3 separate regions of the Homo sapiens genome follow, and regions 1 and 2 are each linked to region 3. Evidence: promoter capture Hi-C in human tissues and cell types (Jung and others, 2019). All regions are on one chromosome and are shown on one strand. Each heading gives the region's core, a stretch centred on a gene start or on the middle of the fragment in contact. The rest is flanking DNA. Distances are from core to core; before and after follow the strand shown. Region 1 overlaps GRK3 (G protein-coupled receptor kinase 3). Region 2 overlaps GRK3 (G protein-coupled receptor kinase 3). Region 3 holds the start of MYO18B (myosin XVIIIB).

What was found. Contacts are between HindIII fragments. The study calls those that stand out against the background at their distance.
Region 1: a contact is called between a fragment that was not itself captured here and the fragment with the promoter of MYO18B in region 3, in 1 of the 25 tissues and cell types used here (spleen).
Region 2: a contact is called between a fragment that was not itself captured here and the fragment with the promoter of MYO18B in region 3, in 1 of the 25 tissues and cell types used here (dorsolateral prefrontal cortex).

Annotation. Positions count from the first base shown.
Region 1 is chr22:25,696,055-25,700,922 of GRCh38, reverse strand. The region is part of intron 13 of GRK3 (G protein-coupled receptor kinase 3); the gene reads right to left. Among named protein-coding and RNA genes, the nearest start is that of MYO18B, 44 kb to the left of the region's middle. The HindIII fragment of the contact is 3,686 bases long and covers 1,385-4,868 here.
Region 2 is chr22:25,678,335-25,683,218 of GRCh38, reverse strand. It overlaps GRK3 (G protein-coupled receptor kinase 3), which reads right to left. Exons shown (of 21, transcript NM_005160.4): 9 at 4,304-4,403. Among named protein-coding and RNA genes, the nearest start is that of MYO18B, 61 kb to the left of the region's middle. The HindIII fragment of the contact is 4,338 bases long and covers 1-3,861 here.
Region 3 is chr22:25,739,138-25,743,491 of GRCh38, reverse strand. MYO18B (myosin XVIIIB) reads right to left here and starts at 1,304. Exons shown (of 44, transcript NM_032608.7): 1 at 1,199-1,304. The HindIII fragment of the contact is 19,978 bases long and covers 1-4,354 here.

The sequences.
Region 1 (4,868 bases), core at 1,978-4,477, 44 kb after region 3:
ACTCTCACATCAAAAGTTAATTTCAAAATACCCAAAAGAGGCCGGGCGCGGTGGGTCACGCCTGTAATCCCACACTTTGGGAGGCCGAGGCAGGTGGATCACAAGGTCAGGAGATCAAGACCATCCCGGCTAACAAGGTGAAACCCGTCTCTACTAAAAATACAAAAATTAGCCGGGAGTGGTGGCGGGAGCCTGTAGTCCCAGCTACTCGGGAGGCTGAGGCAGGAGAATGGTGTGAACCTGTGAGGCAGAGCTTGCAGTGAGCCAAGATCACACTACTGCACTCCAGCCTGGGCAATAGAGCGAGACGCCGTCTCAAATAAAATAAAATAAAATACCCAAAAGATGGCATGTTATATTAAATGTGCATTTCAAACCTAAGCCAGTAGTTGCCAAAATATTTATAAACTTTCCTTTTTCCCCTCCTGGAACAAACTCAATAGCGCCAGCAGCACTCAGTTCTCCCTAGGCCACTGCCCAGGCTCTCCCTCATGTCTGACAACTCCACGGGGAGACAATCAACGGTGACAAGCTTAAGATCGAGGCCACTGTCACATCAATTGATTTCCTTAACAGACATCTTAAATCTAGGTGAAGATCATGATGGCAGCTCCACAGATTTGCAACATGGATGCATCTTCCTACACAGACGCTCTTAAGTATCTGACAAAGTCATCTGAAATAGAAGTAGTGACCAGCACTCAAAGATAGCACATATGAGCGGCTCAGTCAATCACTGTGAGTCCAGGGATGCAAAACACCTTCTGAAGCCTTGACATCTTTCTCCCATCCAGACTCCTTCTCCAAGTGCCTTGCAGTATTCTTGTAGGGGATAAAGACAAAATGAAGTGTGCAGAAAGGTGTTTCAGCAGAAGCAAGGGGGCACGCTGGTCACAGCAAGGAGGATTAAAACAGAAAACAGAGCGGCCGGGCGCGGGGGCTCACGCCTGTAATCCCAGCACTTTGGGAGGCCGAGGCGGGCAGATCACGGGATCAGGAGATCGGGACCATCCTGGCTAACACAGTGATGCCCCGTCTCTACTAAAAATACAAAAAATTAGCTGGGCGTGGTGGCGGGCGCCTGTAGTCCCAGCTACTTGGAAGGCTGAGGCAGGAGAATGGCGTGAATCCGTGAGGCAGAGGTTGCAGTGAGCCGAGATTGCACCACTGCACTCCAGCCTGGGCGACAGAGCGAGACTTCGTCTCAAAAAAAAAAAAAAAAAGAAAAGAAAAGAAAAGAAAAGAAAATAGAAAGACCCTTCCTTGGTGGCCATTGATTCCACCTCACTGCACAGCTGTGGGAGGAGGGAGGGGCATTTGCTCTGGGGCAGTGGTCCTCACCCTCGGCACTGTTGACATTTAGGGCTAAAGGATTCTTTGTTGGGGTGTTGCGGGAGCTGTCCTGTGCCTCATAGGATGTTGAGCAGCATCCTTGGCCTCTACTTAGGGGATGCCAGTAGCAGCCACTTCCCAAGTTATGATGACCAAGAATGCCTCCAGCCATTGCCCAGTGTCCCCCAGGGTTGAGGACAGGCGCCCCAGGAGTGTCAGGATGCAGAGGGGACTGTGCCCAAGCCTGTGCCTCAGAGACCCTGCCTAGTCAATCTCCTCCTCCACTCAGTTGATTTCTTAGGCCCCGTGTGCCTGAGAAAAGACAGCTGCCAGGGGCTCCCTTCTATACAACACAGGAAAAATGCACAGGAGGCTGACAGGCATATTTTTGAGGTTCTCCCACATGCAACTTTGTGAGGAAGTAGAACAGGTGGCATTATCCCCTTGTTCACAGCTGAGGCAGTGAGGGCTCCTGCACACAGTCCCACCTCCTGCCCGCCTCGCCACAGGGTTTTGCTCCTGAAAGGCCCTCCGTACACTTCAGTTTCATGTGAACCACTGAAATTTTACAGACGCTGATTTTAGTAATGACATCGTTATTCTCCCAATCATCTTGAATCTAAATTGCAGCATGTTTAACTTCTATCCTTCCATATCCAACCATCTATAAAAAAACAAAAACAAAACACACTCCACGAAAACACTGAAGCGTTACAGAAGCTAACTCTGCAATGCCGCCATGTCATTTGCTCCTGTCAGGTTCCAGGGCTGCTGCGCAAACTCACTGCCTTTTGCTCACATTCTTCTGCCTGCCTCCTGTCTCGGTTCCTCCATTGCTCCAGGCTGCTTCCAGAATCATCTTACTGAAAAGCCACCCAACCCTGCCACTGCTCCGCTGAAAAGCTTTCAGCCTCGGGGCCTGGAGGATAAAGGTCAAACTTCCCAGCACTGCATCCGAGGTCCTCCCAGTGCTGACCCAACCATCTGAGACTTCTCCCTCAGCACTCCTTCCCTCTTAAGAAACATAGAAAGCTGGTATTTCCCCTGCTCCCAGGCTTTGTATTGTCATCCTACCTATCTTCAAAGCCTACCCGACAGACCATCTCCCACATGATGTCAACCCTACACTTCCAGGTTAGAATTGGTTCTGCCATGTCTGTGCTCGCAGCACATCGCTACTGTCAAAGTTAGCACAGCTCAGCCAGCTCCTGATCCGGTGTGTATATCAATAGCTACTCTCCTAGACTGCCTATCCCTCAAAGATTTTGTGTGGCTCCCTTCCTGGCTGGCTGGTTGGCTTCCTTCCTTCCTTCCTTCTTTCTCTCCCTTCCTTCCTTCCCTTTTCTCCCTTTCTTCCCTCTTCTTCCTTCCTCCTTCCTTCCCTCCCTTCCTCCTTCCCTTTCTTTCTCCCTCCCTCTCTTCCTCTCTCCCTTCTTCCTTCCTTCCTTCCTCCCTCTCCTTCCTCCTTTCTTCCTTCCCTCCTCCCTCCCTCTCCTTCCTCCCTTCCTCCCTCCCTCTCCTTTTTTCCTTCCTTACTCCTTTCCTTCCCCCACAGCATCAAGCAGTCTCTTGTACATTGCAGGTACGCAGTAAATGCTTATCACATTTAATTTAAATCACTTAAGTCAAAAATGTTTCCTGCTCTTTGGCTCCAGTGCTATATCCTATCTGTGAGTGACTTCTGAACAAACAATAGAAGGAATGGCATGAGATAATAAATCCTAGTGGGGGAGATTCATCTAATCCTATCTATCAAGCACTGGAAAGATTCCTTCCATTTCAGGCTCAATCGATGGTCACCAGACAGTGACAAGGAGCCTGCTATCCATGAGGCAGAACCCTCCTTCACTGGGTAGCTCAAATGACTGGACATTCTTGTATTAAACTGAAATCTTTTTTCTCCTCAAAATGCATCCCTCTGGAGTTACACAGCATGCATATGATCCCTTCAACAAGACGGCCTTCCAGCAGCTGGAGCCAACCATGCGCTCCCCTAAGTTCTGCACTCAGCTCTTTCAGTCTTCCCACGGAGGCCATCATTTCTAGCTATTTCACCACTCTCCACTTATCTCATCCATCCCTCCCAGCCTCACGGCCATCCTCAGGATGTCTTCCTGTCTGTCAAGACTCTTTTCGGCAGGAGCCCCACTGAACATAATGCTTCCATCAAGGCCAATCAAGGACTTCACAAAGGAATTAATATCTTCCAGTTCAGTATGCCAAAGCTGAATTACAGCCAAATAAGACTGAATTCATTTTATTAGCCACAAACCACACTGTTGGAGCAGACAGAGTTATTGAACAAAACCCTCTAGTCTTTTAAAAAATGAAGCAGTGTTACAGCAAATCCTCCCCAGCCTATATGCATGGCCATTTTAACAGCTAGAGTAACAAAACAAAGAAGTACACAAAGCCCTAAATACAAGGCTTCTGGGATTGTCAGATTTTACTGCTGATTTTTACATTCAACAGTTCAGCTGTTGCACAGTTTTCTTTTTATCATCTCCAAATTCTGTAGGTAGGGACTGTCTGTCTCCAACCACATCTCCAGCAGAGATCCAAAATAAAGATCTCCTGGGTGTCTTCATGCACTCCATATGCATAGAAGCGACTCCACTGGGGAGAACAGCATCTCATAGGGGAAATGGCTTTCTCTGGTTTGCTTAGATAAACTCTCTAATTAGGTCAGCTAGTCTGATGACATGAATTAAAGCCATCCAGGCTCCACAAATACAATAATTCAATTAAGGAATAACAGAACCCGACTTTCTAAGCAATAATACAATTTTAGATCACAAGTGAATGCAAAGTAGAGAGCAACTGGATTATCAGAGTCCTGACGAAACAGAGGGTGCTCAGAACCTAGTTTTGGGGGAATGTAGAATTCAGCCTCTCTCCAGAATGTGCTAAATGTAGTAAGATGCAGTGGTGCTCAGTTAGGCTCTCCGATGGAAAGGTGCAACATTTAGCAAACTATCGGGACTGTGTTCATATGAAAATATTAAAAGGAAAATCTTAACTAGGAAATTTTAATGTAAAATGATTTATGAGTCTGAATAATAAAAAAATTTAACTGAAGTTTTCCATTAAAATTGGCTAAAAGTCTTAGAATTAATGGCAACATTAACATAATTGTTAAGTGTTTAATATGAGAACATATTTTGAGAGTACTTTCCTCTCATAATCTTTTCTACTCTATTTCATCATCTTTGGTAGTTCAGAACAAGGGCCAAGTATACTACTAGCTTTAAAAGACAAATTAATTTCAGCATTTTCCCCAACAAACGCAAGCTTTTTAAAATGGGTTTACCGGCTAGGTGTGGTGGCTTAGGCGTTTAATCCCAGCACTTTGGGAGGCTGAGGTGGGAGGATGGCTTGAGGCCAGGAGTTCGAGACCAGCCTGGGCAACATGGCAAGACCTCACCTCTAAAAACATTAAAAAATTAGCTGGGTGTAGGCCGGACGCGGTGGCTCATACCTGTAATCCCAGCACTTTGGGAGGCCAAGGCAGGCGGATCACCCAGTCAGGAGATCGA
Region 2 (4,884 bases), core at 443-2,942, 61 kb after region 3:
GATCAGCAAATGTTTTCTGCAAAGGGCTAAAAAGTAAATATTTTAGGCCTTGCAGGCCGCATATAATCTCTGTCATCTATTATTCTTTGCTTATTTTCTTTACAATCCTTTAAAAATGTAAAAACCATTCTTAGGTAATGGGCTCTATAAAATAAGGCCAACAAGCTAGACTTGGCCTGAGCCACACCTGGCTTTCTGACCTCTGCTGCACAGCTACAGGAGGGAGTTACAGCCGTGGGCAACACCACAGATGAATCTTGTAAGCAACATGGAGTGAGAGAAGCCAAACACAGAAGGGCACATTTATAAAGTTCAAACACAATTTGCAAAGCTAAAATATGCTGTTAGAAATCTGGGTAGTAGTTAAGTTGGGTGCAGGGTTAGTGACTGGGAGAGGCACAAAGAGATTTCTAGAATACTGGTAACTTTCCGTCTCTTGATCTGGGTGCCGGAGATGCGTGTATTCCCTTATGAAAATTCATCAGTGCTATGCTAGATCTATTAGCTCTATTTAGATCTATTTTATCTATGAAATCCACTTAGATTCTTTACATAAAGTGTATACTTGTCACTAAACTGATTCAGTTTTTAAAATGGCCTAGATTGTCTATATCTTGTTTCTTAACGAACACAAAAAATTATTAAATTCCAAAGAAAATGTTCAAATTTCAACATAATCTGTAAACAGAATTTGCATTGTTAAAGCTAACAGCTCAAGACCACATCCCTAGGAGGCTCAGCCCCCCTTAAAATGACTGCCTCAGAGAAATCAAGGCTTCCCAAAGAATTTTTATTTGTTCCAGCAAACACTCAAAGATAGAGCCCCTATCTCCGAGCCTCCATGGGAGGGTAGGAGTCTAACTTGGATAAGTCCCAGTTAGCAAACCCAGATGGGTCCCATATGGACCATGCCCCTTCCTGCATTGTAAAATTCTTCACTTCCTTGACTCTGCTCCAGCCCGCATTGCACTCCACAGGCCACTGTCCCTTTAAAACATCCGGTCACCTCTGCACAAGTCAGAATGGAGCTCCATTATTTCTCTTACTGTCTAGTCATTACCAAATAAATGCTGTTTTAATTACCAAATAAATGCTTTAACTAAAGTCCAACTATATTTATCTTTGACTCGATGTAAAATAAACACGCAGGTGAAGGAATCAGATGTGGTTATCTCTACAGAAATCAGTTACTGCAACCCTCACCTCTCGGGGTGCTGAACAGACACTATAATGGGTTTCATGTGGAGTCCAGGACACAACCGAATACTGACCAATATGAAAAAATAAGTGGCAATTTAATGAAGGGTGGGATACAGTTCCAAGGATAATTATGGATAAGACGGCCTGCCTTGATTACAAGTCAGAATAAAAGTGGATTTTTAGAAGTAGACCATTAAGTAAAACTCTTGAGCAAGGAACTGTCTACTTTGATTTCCTACTAAAAGTCAACAAAATAGCTTACATTTTGCAGGAACTCGCCATAAAAAAACTGTGATAAAACAGGACCATGAAGTCGTTGTTGAAGAAAATCCTCCACACTGCAGCCGGAGCAATCTTTGTGAACTGCAAGGCTGATTATGGTCTCTCTCTAGTTAAAACACTTGGTTTCTAACTGCAGTCAGATCATTTAGGCTCCTCAAGATCGGCCGGCGATGCCCTTCACGGTCTGGCCTGGCCTTCATGTCTCTCTCCAGCTTTGTCTTGCACGACTCCCCCCACCACCGCAGACCCTGGCCCCTCATCTGATTCCCCCAACCTCACGTGCCTGGGCTCAGAGGAGCCACGTGCACTGGCTCCTCTCCAGGTAACCCCCAACTTCAGAAAGGCATTCGCTGACCCCATCTCCACCCTGCGAAAGGCCTTCCGAGCACTGTGTGCCTGTCTTCCATAGCTCTTGCCACAGGTCCCAGTTGTCCATACATTTCCGTCATCATTTGAATAATACATCTTTTCCCTTTCCATGCAGCTGTATGAGAACTAAGAACTGGGACCACAGTCCCAGCTTGCCGCAGAGTGCCTGGTTCAACCTAAATCCTCAACTGTGGTTCAGGGAATAAATGAGTCACGCTTCTGAGGAACTTAAATGACTGACTGGATGAATTGCTGACTGCTCTTCACAGCTGTGGACACGCTTATGCTGGTTCTCCAACATGCATATTTCCTTTTTTGCCATCTGAGAATTACAGAAGAAAACCGGGAACAGTACTTCCTACTGTCTTTTGGGGAGATGGGTAGGAATACTCAAGTTGAGATTAAAAAAAAAAAAAAACCTTCCAGTAAAAAGAAAACTGTGGTGAGTGAATGCATTTCAGTTACATGTCCACAATACGGGAAAGCCTGCCGATACAGTCTGATCAAAAGCTTCACTTAATGAGGGTATTTTCAACTAAGTTTTATTAAAAACTATAGAAAGTATCCCCTGATTAGCAAAAACAATTCCAAATAACTTTACTATAATTATTTTTGTTAAATTATGCATTTATAAATTTTAAAAATACCATACAGTTTTGATATCTAAATAAAATACAAATAATTCTTTTAAATTAGTTCAAAGTGATAGCCCAAAATAACCCTAATTTTTTAATTTACTCTTTTAGGGTTACACCAGTGAGAAACTACACAACCACTTAACCACATCTCCTCTCACCTGAGTCAAATCAATATAAAAATATTACATGAAAACTATACTTATGTTTTTCCAACATTAAAACGTTTATTTTCTATAGGCTTTCTTGAGAATAAATATCCAAGGCTTTGAGATAACTCACTGAAAATTAATATTTTAATAACCACTTAAAATCTTCATCCAGTACTCACATCCACGTTTGAAATTTAGGATACAGACATTTCCAATAGAAATTAAAAGCCAATGCCATTCACACTGACTCCAACAGAGTATGCAGGATGCTTGGTTTCCATTCTCATCAGTTAAAAACTTGGTCACACACACAAAGCAACTCTTATTTGAAATGCTTAATGCCCATACAGTGGGAGGTCAAGGCACATAATTAGAAATTATTTATGGCTATGGGGTTTCCATTTGTTGTAACTTAGCTACATTATGCTATTCTTTTGCTTCAATAGCAAATACCTCTTCCAGAAACACTTTAATGACAGAATAATATAAACCATAATACAATAAATACAGGTGACAAACGAAAAAACATACAGCCTATAAAGTGATGATAAAAGGAGCACTGGCCAAAAAGTCTAGAGATTTGGGGAAGGAAATTAACCTCTCTAGGTCTCAGGTTACTTGCTCAGCAGTTGAAAGGGATTCTTTCATTACCCACTAAAATTTGGTTTTTTCAGATCCTTTTGGTGAAGACCTTACTTAAAATCCAGCCATGGGATCTAGAAGTCTCGCACATTTCTCACTGAATATAAACCTTCCTGGCTGGAGTATCTACGGTTTCATTCACATGTGGGGTACACAGTTAGTTAGTGTCTGGCCCCTCCACGCTCACCCCATGCCTCTCCCTCTCTGTCCTGACTCCCTAACCCACTCTGAACACCAGGTCACAGCCATACCAGTGCACACACGCTGTAACAGGGTACTGAGAGGACGGGTTTTTTGGATGTGTCTTCACATACACTGGCATCTGTACAGACACATAAAAGCTGAGGTTTTGATCTTGGGTAATACCATTAACAGAAAAAGAAATTGGAATGGGCAGCTATTTAGTAAGTAAAGAAGATGTAGGGTAAAAGTGGGGTCACACATGTTGAGCTAAAAATGATAGCTTAATATACAAAGAAAGTGTCCAATAAGTAGAAATATGGTGCTAGAAATGGAAAGGCTGATAAACAGAGTAGCAGGTAGTGAGAGGCAGGTAAGATCACCTTCCAGTGAAACGCTGACTAGGGACAATCTCAAAAGGACAATTCGGATGTGAGTAATCCAAGTCGCTTCTCTCGATTCGCTTCTGAAGGACAGAAGCCACTTTTCTCTTACTTTTCCCCTCTAGGTTAGTCCTTCTTGCCAGTCGTTTAGTCAGGTCTTGACTATATTCCAGTGATTTTTCTGGCTATCATTATTTTCTGCCATCTCTACTACCATATTCTGCAAAGAAGGAAGTCAAGGACAAATAAATAGGCACTAAACGGAGAAGCCATGGGTGTGCATAATGGAGGTGGCTGGTGTTCTTCTAACTTGCAAAATCAAATAAAGAGATACTATCAGATTCTAACCCACCCAAGAACTCACTGGCCTTGCAATCAGCTAGAAGGAAAAATAATAAATCATCCTGCTATGAAACAAACAAAACATTTTTAAAAGAAATGCTGGAAATTGAATACTTACTCCTGTGCTGACAAGAGACAACATGATTCTTTCATTTAAGGCTAATGTTTCTCCTTGTTTCATTTTGATCCTCTTCTTATCTAAGCATTTCATTGCATACCTAGAAACATAAATTTATTGAAAAATCTATGCCGTAAATATATCTAGACTAATTTAAACAATATATGTCACTCTGGGGCAAGTTTCTGAACATTTAGGCCATGTTTAAAAGAAGCAGAGTAATACCCAAGCGCCATGCAAGAAGTATTTTTATTTTGCATGTATTGTGAAAACAAAATCAAGCAATACTTAAAAGATATTTGTATCATTAAATGGATAGAAGTCCCAGTTAAATAAATGATAAAGTAGATGGACATAAATAATTTTATTATGACTAATAAGGGCATATGTATATATTTAGCAGCTAGGAATTGTGAATTCAGCAATGGTCAATTGTTTGTTTTTTGTTTTTTGTTTTTTTTTGAGACAGAGTCTCACTCTGTTGCCCAGGCTGGAGTGCAGTGGCACGATCCAGCTCACTTCAAGCTCCACCTTCCGGGTTCACACCATTCTCCTGTCTCAGCCTTCCAAGTAGCTGGGAC
Region 3 (4,354 bases), core at 55-2,554:
TTCTCCTCCTCCTCTTCCTTCTTTTCTCTCTCTCCTCTCCACTATTATTTTCTAGAACTCATCCATAGCCTAAGAGTATATAGACCCCTCTCTTTTCTGCTCCCAAGGTACACACTGGACATGGTACCCAGGCATAGGAGAATACAACTTAGGTCAGCAATGGATACAGCACCCAAGGCCACCATTATCCTTGTTGGAGTCTAGAAGCCCTAGTGGGACACTCAGCCTCCATGAGCTGGTGCACTGAATGAGGCAGCATCTTTTTGGACAGCCACAAAGTGAAAGTAACAGCCTCGTCGTATTCCAGGCCCTACAGGATAGAAGCCCAGATCCCCACACTTGCGGGTTGAGGCCAGACTGGACAGCTTGGAGCCGACTGGGAGCCGACTGGGCTCCCCATTCCGGGCCTCCCCACTCCTGGCCTCCTCCATGGAAAAGCTGCAGGAAGGCAGCAGCCCAGAGGCCTGTAGCTGGTGAGGTCTTCTCCTCTCCTGGGAGAGAGCTCCATGTCAAAGCATAGCCCCCTTCTGCCCCACTATGGGGCCACTGGGACCTGTGAATCTTCTTCATTCAGAGAAATGCCTGCTATCCGGGGTGCCAGATAAGACACCTTCCCTCAGACAGAGCTCAAGGAAGGTGGCATGAAATTGAAACCTTCAGCCATGAACTTCCATTGCCCTTCCCCCAACACTCATACATGCTTAATTTGCAGTTTAAAAAAGAACATTAAAATTAACATTTCGACTCAACAGCGTTGTTAACACGAAAGGGGAAGCCTGGCTCTTCCCCGACCATAACTGAACACCAGTGAAGCAGAAATTACTGGTAGTTGAGGAAAAATATAAACCCTGACGTCTGCGGGCAAAGATTCACAGTGGAGATTAACTCATGATTCTAAACACATTTTTAAAAATTATTAGCGAACAGCTGGGGCCTGAGGAGAGTGATTCTTACGAATGTCCATTTGCCCCAGCATTTTGTTCTCAAATCCTTCCACCGAAACACTCTTGTTTTCAAAGTGAGCAGCACGGGCAACAGGCAAAGGAATCAGGCCTCGGAAGCTCTCAACACCAGAAAGGCCTAAAATAGACCAAAAGACCGGAGGCCTGCCACCGCAGCCCCCAGCAGCGCATTCCGGAAAATTAAAACTCGCCGATCCGCTCGCAAGGTGCCCGTCTAAAACCCAGCCCAATAGTACCTTCTGCAAAGAGGACACAGATCACAGGAACCACGACTGTCTAAGACGTCTCCCCGGGTGGCCGCGAAGGGACCCCACCGAGCCGGGAAAGCAGGAGCGAAGGAGCACCCTCTCCACACACACCGACACACATCCCTTCCCCTTACTGCCCCTCCCCGACCCGTCCTCCCCCCACCCTCCTTCTGGGCCAATGTGATAGCAGCAGCTGAGTCGACCAGTCATTTCTAAAATTAGCTTGTGAGCTCCAGGTCTGGCCAGGAGACGGCAGCCCGGGGTGGCCGTTGACCAGGCAGCAGAGACCATGGACATATTTGGTGGCCCCTGAGCAGGGAAGGGGACAGCTCTGGACACAAGCACATGCTCTCTCGTCATCCCTGTCCCAGGGCAGGGCCACACACCCACACTCCCGCCTCTGCCCACACAGATAACCAGAGGTTGCAGGAACTGTTTGAGGAGGAGAGCTGGCCGGTTCTACATTCCAGGCAGACTCTGGAAGAAAATAACTTGAATGAATGCTGGTGCGTCGTGGTAAACAACCAGTGCATGTAAACATACCTTATGCTTAGGTAGTGGTTATCGCATGCCACACACCGAGGGCTTTCATGAACTCACTTAATGTTCCCTATGAGGTAGGGTTTTTCCCCAGCCCCACTTTACAAGTGGGGAAATTGAGACACAAAAAGTTAACCAACTTGCCCAAGGCCATGGAGAGCCAGAATTCAAACCCAGGCTGTGCGGGCCGTAGAGGAAACAGACACAACAGCAAACTAGGGGCTATAAAAAAGTGCTTTGGGCCTGGCACGGTGGCTCACGTCTGTAATCCCGGCACTTTGGGAAGCCGAGGTGGGCATATCACGAGGTCAGGAGATTGAGACCATCCTGGCTAACACAGTGAAACCCCGTCTCTACTAAAAATACAAAAACAAAATTAGCCGGGCGTGGTGGTGGGCGCCTGTAGTCCCAGCTACAGGCGGAGCTTGCAGTAAGCCGAGATCGCGCCACTGCACTCCAGCCTGGGTGACAGAGAGAGACTCCATCTCAAAAAAAAAAAAAAAAATCAGCTGGGTGGGGTAGTGGTTGTCTGTGATCCCAGCTACTTGGGAGGCTGAGGCAGGAGAATTGCTTGAACCCAGGAGGCGGAGGTTGCAATGAGCTAAGGTCACGCCACTGCACTCTAGCCTAGGCGATAAGAGACTCTATCTCAAAAAAACAACAACAAAAAAAGTGCTTTGTCCACTGCCTAAAAGGAGCAAAGTACAGACTTCAATAAATTGGATAAACCATGCAGGTCCATGCAGCTAGCAAAGGGTAGAGTCATGACTCAAATCCAAGTCTTTCTGGTTCCAAAGACCGCAATCAGCCCAGCATGATACTGCTCCTGTGAGAATTGTTTCAATAATTGCTATGTGGTGCTGCTCCTCTTTCCCCAGAGCTCATCGAGCAATATTTTCCCAAAGTACTCACTTCTGCCGAGGTCTTGAAAATTAGCATTCAATCAGAAGTTCATTGAAACACTAAGGGAAGGCTGCTTAGAAAATGGCAGTCTAGGCCGGGTATGGTGGCTCACACCTGTAATCCCAGCACTTTGGGAGGCTAAGGCGGGTGGATCATTTGAGGTCAGGAGTTTGAGACCAGCCTAGCCAACATGGTGAAACCCCACCTCTACTAAAAATACGAAAATTAGCTGGGCGTGGTGGCGGGCACCTGTAATCCCAGCAACTCGGGAGGCTGAGGCAGGAGAATAGCTGGAACCCAGGAGTCAGAGGTTGCAGTGAGCAGAGATGGCGCCATTGCACTCCAGCCTGGGCGACAAGAGCAAAACTACATTTTGAAAAAAAAAAGAAAAGAAAAGAAAGAAAAAGAAAATACAATATACATAATATACATGAGGTTGAGGAGGGGTCCCTGCGGCCCCCAGTGGAGAGTGGCATGGGACATTTAGGCCACACCAGGGGAAGAGTTTGGAGACAGGTCCCGGTGAGCTGTTTTCTCCAGGTTGTGCTAGATCATTTGACATTGAAACAAGAACCTCCCTTCTCCCGCCCCTTGCATCACAAGTCCTGAACCATTGGCTCCTGGGCTTTTCTGTCCTTGCTGTCTTTCCGACGCTGTTGGTCTGAAGTGGTAGAGTTGACATGCAGAAATGATTCTCTGGGCCCAGGGCTGGGACTCTCTATAGGCCATGACCTGCAGTGATGGTTCCGTTGACTTGAAGGGACCTCCGTTCCCCAAGGAGTCAACATGGCATGTGTTTGCTCCATTCACCTTGTTGGTACCTGTGGTGGGTGGATTTTTGCTACACAAGATGACCAAGTATTACCTTGAGCACACGGTGATTTAGGGCAGCCCTTATAAGCAAGATTTTGTCACCCAGCTGAGCATTTACTGTCCAGTCTCCAGGCTTCATTCCCCAGGCTGGGGGAAAAGACGAGAAGGTGGAGGCTTTCTTATCAAGGCATCCAGAGAACCGGCTGCTTTGGGCTCATCTGATCCAGTTGGCGTGGTGTCATGGAAAGAGTGGATCGTGGTGCTATTCTGTTGGGTGTCAGGACAGTTCAAGTGGCTGTGGGTTTGTCTGGGCAAAGACCAAGGGAATCATCACTTTACATACCTGCTGTGGGGTTGTTGTTCCTTTCCCCTGGAGATTTGGCCTCTCCTTAGGCTAAGGAGTTCTGGATCCACAAAACAGCCAAGGGATTGTGACATTTTATATGGACAATTGACTTCTATCTCTTGATCATCCCTAATTTTTTTTTTTGAGATGAAGTCTTGCTCTAGTCCTCCAGGCTGGAGTGCAATGGCACAATCTCTGCTCACTGCAACCTCTGCCTCCCAGGTTCAAGCGATTCTCCTGCCTCAGCCTCCTCAGTAGCTGGGATTACAGGCACCTGCCACCATGCCTGGCTAATTTTTGTATTTTTAGTAGAGACAGGGTTTCACCACGTTAGCCAGGCTGGTCTCAAACTCCTGACCTCAGGTGATCTGCCCACCTCAGCCTCCCAAAGTGCTGGGATTACAGGCGTGAGCCACTGCACCCGGCCCCTAATTTTTTTCTTTAAATGTTCTTAGAGTCTGGGTCTCACTCTGTCACCCAGGCTGGAATACAGTGGCCTGATCACGGTTCACTGAAGCCTCAAACTCCTTACCTCAAGTGAT